Regions from separate parts of the Homo sapiens genome. Here region 1 is linked to region 2. The links are contacts of gene promoters, found by promoter capture Hi-C in human tissues and cell types (Jung and others, 2019). All regions are on one chromosome and are shown on one strand. The core of a region is centred on a gene start or on the middle of the fragment in contact, and the rest is flanking DNA. Distances in the headings are between cores, read along the strand shown.

Region 1 (4,313 bases), core at 1,212-3,711, 1.3 Mb before region 2:
GTCTGCATCCTGAAATTTTTTTTTTTTTTTTTTTTTGAGATGGAGTTTTGCTTTTCTCACCCAGGCTGGAGTGCAATGGTGCAATCTTGGCTTACTGCAACCTCCATCTCCCAGGTTCAAGCAATTCTCTTGCCTCAGCCTCCCAAGTAGCTGCGATTACAGGCGCCCACCACCACCCCTGGCTAATTTTTGTATTTTTAGTAGAGACGGGGTTTCACCATGTTGGCCAGGCTGGTCTCGAACTCCTGATCTCAGGTGAACCACCCACCTTGGCCTCCCAAAGTGCTGGGATTACAGGCATGAGCCACCACGCCTGGTCTTGTTTTTTTTTTTTTTTTTTTTTTGAGACAGAATCCTGATTGGTCACCCAGGCTGGAGCACAATGGCACGATCTCGGCTCACTGCAACCTCTGCCTCCCGGATTCAAGCAATTCTCCTCCCTCGGCCTCCGGGGTAGCTGGGACTACAGGCGTGCACAACAACTGCTAATTTTTGTATTTTTAGGAGAAACGGGGTTTCACTGTGTTGGCCAGGCTGGTCTCAAGTTCCTGACCTCCAGTGATCCACCCTCCTCAGCCTCCCATAAGTGATGGGATTACAGGTGTGAGCCACCGTGCCTGGCCTGTATCCTGAAATTTTAAAAACCTTCTTAAATTATTTGGCAGCAAAAAGTAAACTGATGCATTTTTTGAGCAGCAAAGTCAGCCTTGAACTGATGTGAGTCTATTTATATTTGTCCCACTCCATGTGAATATTCATGTTTCCTTACGGAATATTGTTTTTCTTTAAAAAGTGCTGTATTACATAATATACAGTATGTGCACCATATTACCTTTCTAAAAATCAAAAAATGCTCAATTTTGAAACATATGTGGCCCCCAGGATTTCTAATAATGGATTGAAGATCTATCACTTATGTCCTTCGGGAATGGTGTGAGGATTGAGATAATTTTTTTTTTTTTGAGCTGGATTGCACTGGCGCAATCTCAGCTCACTGCAAACTCCGTCTCCCGGGTTCAAACGATTCTCCCGCCTCAGCCTCCCAAGTAGCTGGGATTACAGACGCACACCATCGTGCCCCGCTAATTTTTGTATTTTTAATAGAGACGGGGTTTCGCCATGTTGCCCAGGCTGGTTTCGAACTCCTGACCTCAGGTGATCCGCCCGCCTCGGTCTCCCAAAGTGTTGGGATTACAGGCGTGAGCCACCGCGCCTGGCCGAGAGAATGCTTTTCAAACGACGGTGGGAGCAAAGGCCAGGCCCAGAATTAAAGAAGATGACAGGGTGGGACAGAGGAAGCAGGTGATATGAGAGCGTGTGCTCTGGCGCAGCCATGAGGCTGAAGTAGACGGTTAGGGGAGCGTCTTTGGTGGCCGCTGAAGTTGATGCTTAATTCCGAGGAAACAACGAGGCGGCCATGGAAAGTAACGAGATACTTGATTCTTAGAAAGATTTGTAGGGGGCCAGGCGCGGTGGCTCACACCTGTAATCCCAGCACTTTGGGAGGCCGAGGCGGGCGGATCACGAGATCAGGAGTTCAAGACCAGCCTGGCCAACATGGTGAAACACCGTCTCCACTAAAAATACAAAAAAAAAAAAAAAAAAAATTAGCCAGGCATGGTGGCGCATTCCTGTAATCCCAGCTACTCGGGAGGCTGAGGCAGGAGAACTGCTTGAACTGGGAACCGGTAGGCGGAGCTTGCAGTGAGCTGAGATCGCGCCACTGCGACAGAGCGAGACTCCGTCTCAAAAAAGAGATTTGTAAGGGACCAGCCTGGAAGCAGGGAATCGGTCAGGATCCGAGTCACCCTGGAGCCTAGGCAGAGATCAGCGAAAGCCCTCGCTGATGCATAGGTCTGGAAGGCGTGGGGCTCCGGGAGGCTGAGCAGCTGGACTCGGCATGACCAGAGGTCGTGAGGCCGTTCCGCAGGCTTGGGACGCTCCTGACCCTCAGAATCAAGCGCGGGCCACTGCATTAGCATGGGAGAAATGGCAGAGATAGGGCTTGAGGGAGGGATGCCCGAGATTAAAGGTATTAAAGGTAAATTGGTGTCGCCGCAAAACCAGCGTGGGAGCCAGGAAACGAGAGTTTCAGTCTTTCTTCGCTAATTCCAGAGATAGCTGCATATCACAGGAGGAGAAGCGACGCAGCCATTTTTCTTCGTTATTATCAAATTTGGCTGCTGCCGGACGCCGTAGATTTGTGGCTCACCCACCCTTAGCCCACCTCTCCGCGGCTTTTCACTAAGTTTGAACCCGACCCCTCGCCGTAGAGTGTGTAATTTCTGTCTCCGAAGCTGACGTCAACTTCTGAACGAAAGCTAGGAGCGGAAGAGCGTGCGTGGAAATGGCGCTCGGTACGTGCCCCCGACCTGTCGTCTGCCGCGGGGGCGCGCTCGCACGCCGGAAGGGGCGGGGCCAGATTTGGCTTTATATAGCGGACCCGTAAGGCCGACCGGCCTCTACCGGCGGGATTTGATGGCGTGATGGTATGTGTTGTAATGGCGGCCGTTTCATTGTCACCGGCGTCGGCACGGCTGAATCCGCGACGCATCGCCGCCATCCCGTCTTGGCCGGCGCCGGGGGTTTGCTTTAGGGGCACGGGCGACCCAGCGGGGACTTCAGTCTGGCCTATTTTCTGGAAAGTCGAGAGGCTTGTGAAGAGCGCTTGGAGGACTGGCTTTGGGCCTGCAGGTCGGCCAGAGAGAGGCCGTAAGGGTGGGAGCAGGCTTGGAGGCCCGGCGTTTTTAAAGCCATGAGTCATTTCTAAGTTTCGACCTCACCAATTCTATCATTAGTTGGGATTAGGGCCCATAACCTGCTTGTCTGGGTAGAAGGACCTTGGGTGGAGGTTCTCGGCGCCGTTCTCATTGGGAGGTAAAGAAGCTTGGGGGAGGGGAGTGTTGTGGAGTCCTCCTGAATATCTGGGGCCGCTGGTGCACTCCGAAGGCCTCTGGAGCTCGCAGAAACCACAGATGATGAACTTATTGACGGGCGGACAGAAACTGTGTGCTGATTGTCACGTTCTGATTTGGCTCTGCGGAGTTCTTTGGCCTGTGTGTATCAGTGTAATTAGTGTCCGGGCACCGGAGGCAGCCTATAGCTTAACATTGCTAGCTGCTACCCAGCGTTTGTCCCGGGAGTCCCTTTCTTTAGCGGTCAAAACCTTGCTAATTGGCATATAAAGCTGCCTGTTAAGCAGTTTTTAGTGCCACTACTTAGTGTATTTTTGTGTGGTTAGATAAAAAAAATGGGTCGTTTTCTTACAGGTTGAGAGGATTTGAAATAAGATTCAGCTTAAATTTTGTCGAATACAAAAGCATTCTTGACACGTGCGAGCCTGGAAGAGATAATGACCTTTTTATTCGGCTTGCTGGGTGTCTGGTCAGGATTCTTCAGTATTGCTGAGATTTGGAACTTAAGCAGCTGGGAACTAGAGAAGGGGGCACTGCTTTGGTTTGGGTGCTGACGGTGATTTTTTTCCCACCTAGTCTCACAGAAAGTTCTCCGCTCCCAGACATGGGTCCCTCGGCTTCCTGCCTCGGAAGCGCAGCAGCAGGCATCGTGGGAAGGTGAAGAGCTTCCCTAAGGATGACCCGTCCAAGCCGGTCCACCTCACAGCCTTCCTGGGATACAAGGCTGGCATGACTCACATCGTGCGGGAAGTCGACAGGCCGGGATCCAGTATGTACAGACATCCTAAAAGTTGGGGGAATAGGAGTGGAGGGGGAGGGAAATTGTAGAGATGGAGTCAAGCTGTTAGCAGAGGGCAGACTTTTTTTTTTAAGCAGGAGTTACACGTTGTCAGAACTGCTGCGACAGCAGAATGGGAATGCTTAACTTGAAAACTAATATTCCAAGGCTACAGATGGTCAGCACTGTTTGCTTTAGGTGCGGTGTGGGGTATTGATTTCAGAGCATAGTAAATTTGCCAGGAACCTTAGCAAAGAGAAGTTAACACTAGTGTGGGGGGTTGGAGCTGCTGAGGCTGGCATAAGAACTGCCTCATTCATGTTTTTTTCACCTGAAAGCTTGAATAATGGCCACTTACCTGTGTGTGTTCTACTTAGAGATGTCTAACAGCACTGGTTGCTGAGCCATGGAGACATTAATGTTAGGCAGTTGATACTGACTAATCTCTGAGCTCAGAGCTATTGTTAGGGCACTGAATTTTCCAGATAAATAGCAATCTTGTCTGCCTCCAGAGGTTTCTGTAGAAGAGAATTGAAGCTGGACAGGTATTTGGCTGTCTAGGGTCCTGATATTTTTTGTTTGAATAACATAAATGTGCTTTGAATGAGAGATAGGCAGTA
Region 2 (4,129 bases), core at 318-2,817:
CAATGGCGCAATCTCGGCTCACTGCAACCTCCGCCTCCCGGGTTCAAGTGATTCTCCTGCCTCAGTCGCCCAAGTAGCTGGGACTACAGGTGCCTGCCACCACGCCTGGCTGATTTTTTTGTATTTTTAGTAGAGACGGGGTTTCACCATGTTGGCCAGGCTGGTCTTGAACTCCTGACCTCAGTTGATCCGCCTGCCTCAGCCTCCCAAAGTGCTGGGATTACAGGCGTGAGCCACCGTGCCTGGCCAGCTATGGGACTTGGGTAAGTCAGCCTCTGTGCATCTCAATTTCCTCATCCATAAAATGTGGATGAGCACCCTTATCAGAGTTCTTCTAACCATGCATGGAGGGCACTAACAGCAACCCAGTCCATAGCAGGCACTCCATAAAAATAGGTCCCCCTTCCCTTTCATTTATTCGATCTCTGAGATTTGAGCCAGGTTCTGTCCTTGTCACCTTATCAGGCATCTATGTAGTATGATGGCCACCTACTCCAGGGAGTCTTCCTCTATTAAACTGTCCACCTCCCACCTCTCAACTGCTCGATTACCTCTCGGTTTCCACTATAAATTAGCATTGACTGGTGTTTTATGATAAGTACTCACGCTGATTCACTTATTCATTCAAAAAACATTCGCTAACAACCTACTGACGTCAAGTCCCTTACTAAGTGCTGAGCATAGAGAAAGGCATTGCACCCACTCCTTGATCTGAAAGAGGATATATTCTAATGGGAAAATCTGTCCTACTAACAACCTATGTTGGGAAGGAAGGGTGTCTACAATATTCCTATTCAACCTTCAAAACCTGGTTCAATTGCTACGTCCTCCATGAAGCTTTCCTTGACCATCCCAGCAGAAGCACTGCTCCATCTGCTTTGCTCTTCTTGTCACCAAGTCATGCTAATAGTGCCCTTATGGCACTGAGCTGTGATTATCCCTTTAACTGTCCACAGCCCCCTACAAATAGTGAGCTCCTGGGAGAGCAGGGTCCATTGCTGCTTCAGTACAACAACTGATCCACCGCTGAGAAGCAAGGGTCTGTGGGACTGGGAAGTCCAGGGAAATGAGGAACTTGGGGCTCCTATACTGCTGGAACTTGGGGGAATAAAATACTCACAGTTTATCCTCTTCGATGTCATAATCCAAGTCTGCAAACATGGTTCCGAGAGTTGGAGTGGGCTGGCTAACTGCCCAGCTCGGTAGGGGAATGGGGAACTGGATCCGGGAGAGAAAGGAGCATAGGATTTAAGGAACCCAAGTGCCTAAATGCCAACGCCACCCCTCCCTCCACCACCTCATACGGGACAGCAGTGCCCTCCTCTTCCCTCTGGAGTGGGATGGGACAGTCTCCGGGTGGGGGGCTGGGTAGGTGATTCTTACTAGGTACAAAGGGGGGCTCCAGGCCAGGGCGATAGGCTCAGATCCCAGAGTCCGCCCCACGGGTCTCCAGGCCCTGGGGAGCTGCCTCTGTCGCTCACCGGAAGCGTTGGTCCCACAGCCGGGTCCCGGCCAGGCTGGTACCTGAACCCACCTGCCGTTCCACCTGGCGGTGGCCGCGATTGTCACGTCACTTCCGGCAAGACGCGGAAGTCCCGGCTTTCCCCCCACTGGATATTTGCTCCAATCCCTGCAGACAATCCTTCCCTTCCCGGCTCCCGGGACGCTCGGAACCAAGAACGAGAACAAGTATTGGCGGAAGCTCGCTGTTAGTAGGAACAAGCGAAAACAGAGGAACGGTCTGGACAGGCTGACAGCGTCTAACCCCGCCCTTTGCCCTGCCGCCGCCGCCATCTTGGGAAGGGCAGGGTTTGTCCCAGCTTCCTCAGCTGCACTCAGGGGCCCGCGCCGGCCCGGCGGTTGCCATGGCAACGAAAGCATCCCTGAGCCGGGGTTACCTCCGGCGAGGCTCAGTGGACTATAAACCCCAAGACATCATGCCCTTTCACCCCTTCACCACCTGGGCCTGTGACTCCCCTACTAGAATGGCCCTTTGAGGTCCCAGCCCATCCCAGTTTCGCCAACTTAAGTGCCAAAGAGCGGGGAGTGATTTTGTGCGGGGCCACACACAGTTGGTGTAAGATCTGGATCGTGGCCCTGAAACTCCCGCCGCCTAGTCTAGGGATCTTTGAACGTCCAAACACTAAACAGAGAGCCAGGAGAGGTGTATTCAGTGGGTCTTGCTATTAAGGACAGACTGGACATGCTCCCTTCCCTTTATGTGCCTCAGTTTCCCCATATGTAAACCAAGGCCATTGAGGTAAATGCTTTCTATGGTATATGGTGAAAGGTTTCTCACACCCCCTCCTCCTTCCTTAGTCCTGAGGAGCAGCCCCCCTGGGGTCCCAGGGAGGGTCACGGTCCGCATGTACCTGAGGCTCGGGAAATGCTATCAGTGCTCCCCAGAGTCCGAATCTTGTCTCCTCGCCAGCCTCTGCTGCCACTGCTATTGTGTAAAGTGGGTTCCCTGGGGGAGGTTGGCTCTCCCAGAGCCACAGCCAGGCATCCACCTCATCCGGCAGCATGGGGCCAGGCCCATCCAGCTTGCTTCCCCAGCTGCCCCAGGAGCCATGGAAGAAAGATACAGAAGGATGATTATCCACATATCCCACGGCCGGTGGAAGCCCCGCCCTACTCTCTCCTTAGGTGGCTAATTGAGTCCGGACAGATGTGCAGAATGCCGTGACAATAACAGCCTTCCCACGTGTCCACTGCTCTCCTGTGAGATCACTTTCACAGGATTTGAAAGCTCACCACCACCCTGTGAGAGAAGACCAAATCTTGCCAGCCACATTGTGCAGGCAAGGAAACGGAGGCCCTGGGAAGCCTCTTCCTCTGGTATCATAGCGGCAGGGCTGGGGCTGGGAAAACCAAGCTCTGTTTCCAGGCCAGAATTTTGGTTTCAAAAAGCAGCAGTCTAAGGCCAGGTGCGGTGGCGCACACCTGTAATTCCAGCTATTTGGGAGCCTGAGGCAGGAGAATCGCTTGAAAATAGGAGAGGGAGGTTGTAGTGAGCCGAGATCAGGCCATTGCACTCCAGCCTGGGCGACAGAGAGAGACTCCGTTTCAAAAAAAAAAAAGGCAGCAGTCTCCAAACCCAGGTGCCTTAACATGGATTGTGGCTCTTCCAGCCCATGACCATGCTAGCTCAGGCCCAGGCTCTGCCATTTTGTAGCTGGGAGATCTTGGGTGAGTCGCTGTCTCACTCTGAGCCTCAGGTACGTGTAGAATGGGGAAATGACACCTGCCACCAGGTATTTGTGAAAGTCAAGATTAAAAGGAGAGGCTGGGCGCGGTGGCTCACGCCTGTAATCCCAGCACTTTGGGAGGCTGAGGAGTGTGGATCATGAGATCAGGAGTTGGTATAAGATCTAGATCATATATCTGGACCAGCCTGGCCAACATGGTGAAACCCCGTCTCTACTAAAAATGCAAAAATTAGCCAGGCATGGTGGTATGCACCTGTAATCCCAGCTACTCAGGAGACTGAGGCAGGAGAATCGCTTGGACCCGGGTGGCGGAGATTGCAGTGAACCGAGATCGCGCCATTGCATGCCAGCCTGGGTGACAGAGCCAGACTCCATCTCAGAAACAAAAGATTAAAAGGAGAAACAGGTGTGAGTGCTTTGTAAACAATTTGCATGGCACAGCTGTCACTCTGACCTCAAAACCCCCTACCCACTCTGGCCCTTCTTCTCAGGTTGGGGAAGATGCCCCTGTTTTCTGCCTTGTTCATCCCTTGCCTGCAGGCTCCGCTCTAATTCACCTCTTCCCGGCAGCCTTAGCAGACAATCTCAGCTCATATATCTTGCTCCCTTTTCTGAGCTGAGCTCCTGAGCAGTTGCTATTTGAATCATTTGTTCAGCAATTTGCTGTGTATTTGCCTTGTGAAATCTCTTCATGGTTTTCCTGAGCCAATTCTGCAGTGATTAATTTATTACATGCTTGTATTTTGTCTGGCAAGGTTTTTATCCCCTTTAAATTTGGGGCTTACAGCTCATAGCTACGCCTGGCTAATTTTTGCAATTTTTTTCTTTTCTTTTCTTTTCTTTCTTTCTTTTTTTTTTTCTTTGAGATGGAGTCTCCCTCTTGTCGCCCAGGCTGGAGTTAAGTGGTGCGATCTCAGCTC

Evidence for each region. Contacts are between HindIII fragments. The study calls those that stand out against the background at their distance.
Region 1: the fragment with the promoter of RPL3 here is called in contact with the fragment with the promoter of PICK1 in region 2 in 2 of the 25 tissues and cell types used here (heart left ventricle and mesenchymal stem cells).

What each region holds. Positions count from the first base shown.
Region 1 is chr22:39,317,771-39,322,083 of GRCh38, reverse strand. It overlaps RPL3 (ribosomal protein L3), which reads left to right and starts at 2,461. Exons shown (of 10, transcript NM_000967.4): 1 at 2,461-2,489; 2 at 3,492-3,684. The coding sequence starts at 2,487. SNORD43 (small nucleolar RNA, C/D box 43) reads left to right here and starts at 2,971; the gene lies at 2,971-3,032. RefSeq lists enhancers at 804-1,692, 1,857-2,276, 1,693-2,582, 2,667-2,716, 2,583-3,472. The HindIII fragment of the contact is 19,716 bases long and covers 1-3,459 here.
Region 2 is chr22:38,054,842-38,058,970 of GRCh38, reverse strand. It overlaps PICK1 (protein interacting with PRKCA 1), which reads right to left and starts at 1,567. Exons shown (of 13, transcript NM_012407.4): 1 at 1,384-1,567; 2 at 1,121-1,218. The coding sequence starts at 1,161. RefSeq lists enhancers at 866-1,489, 1,734-1,793, 1,490-2,115. The HindIII fragment of the contact is 14,484 bases long and covers 18-4,129 here.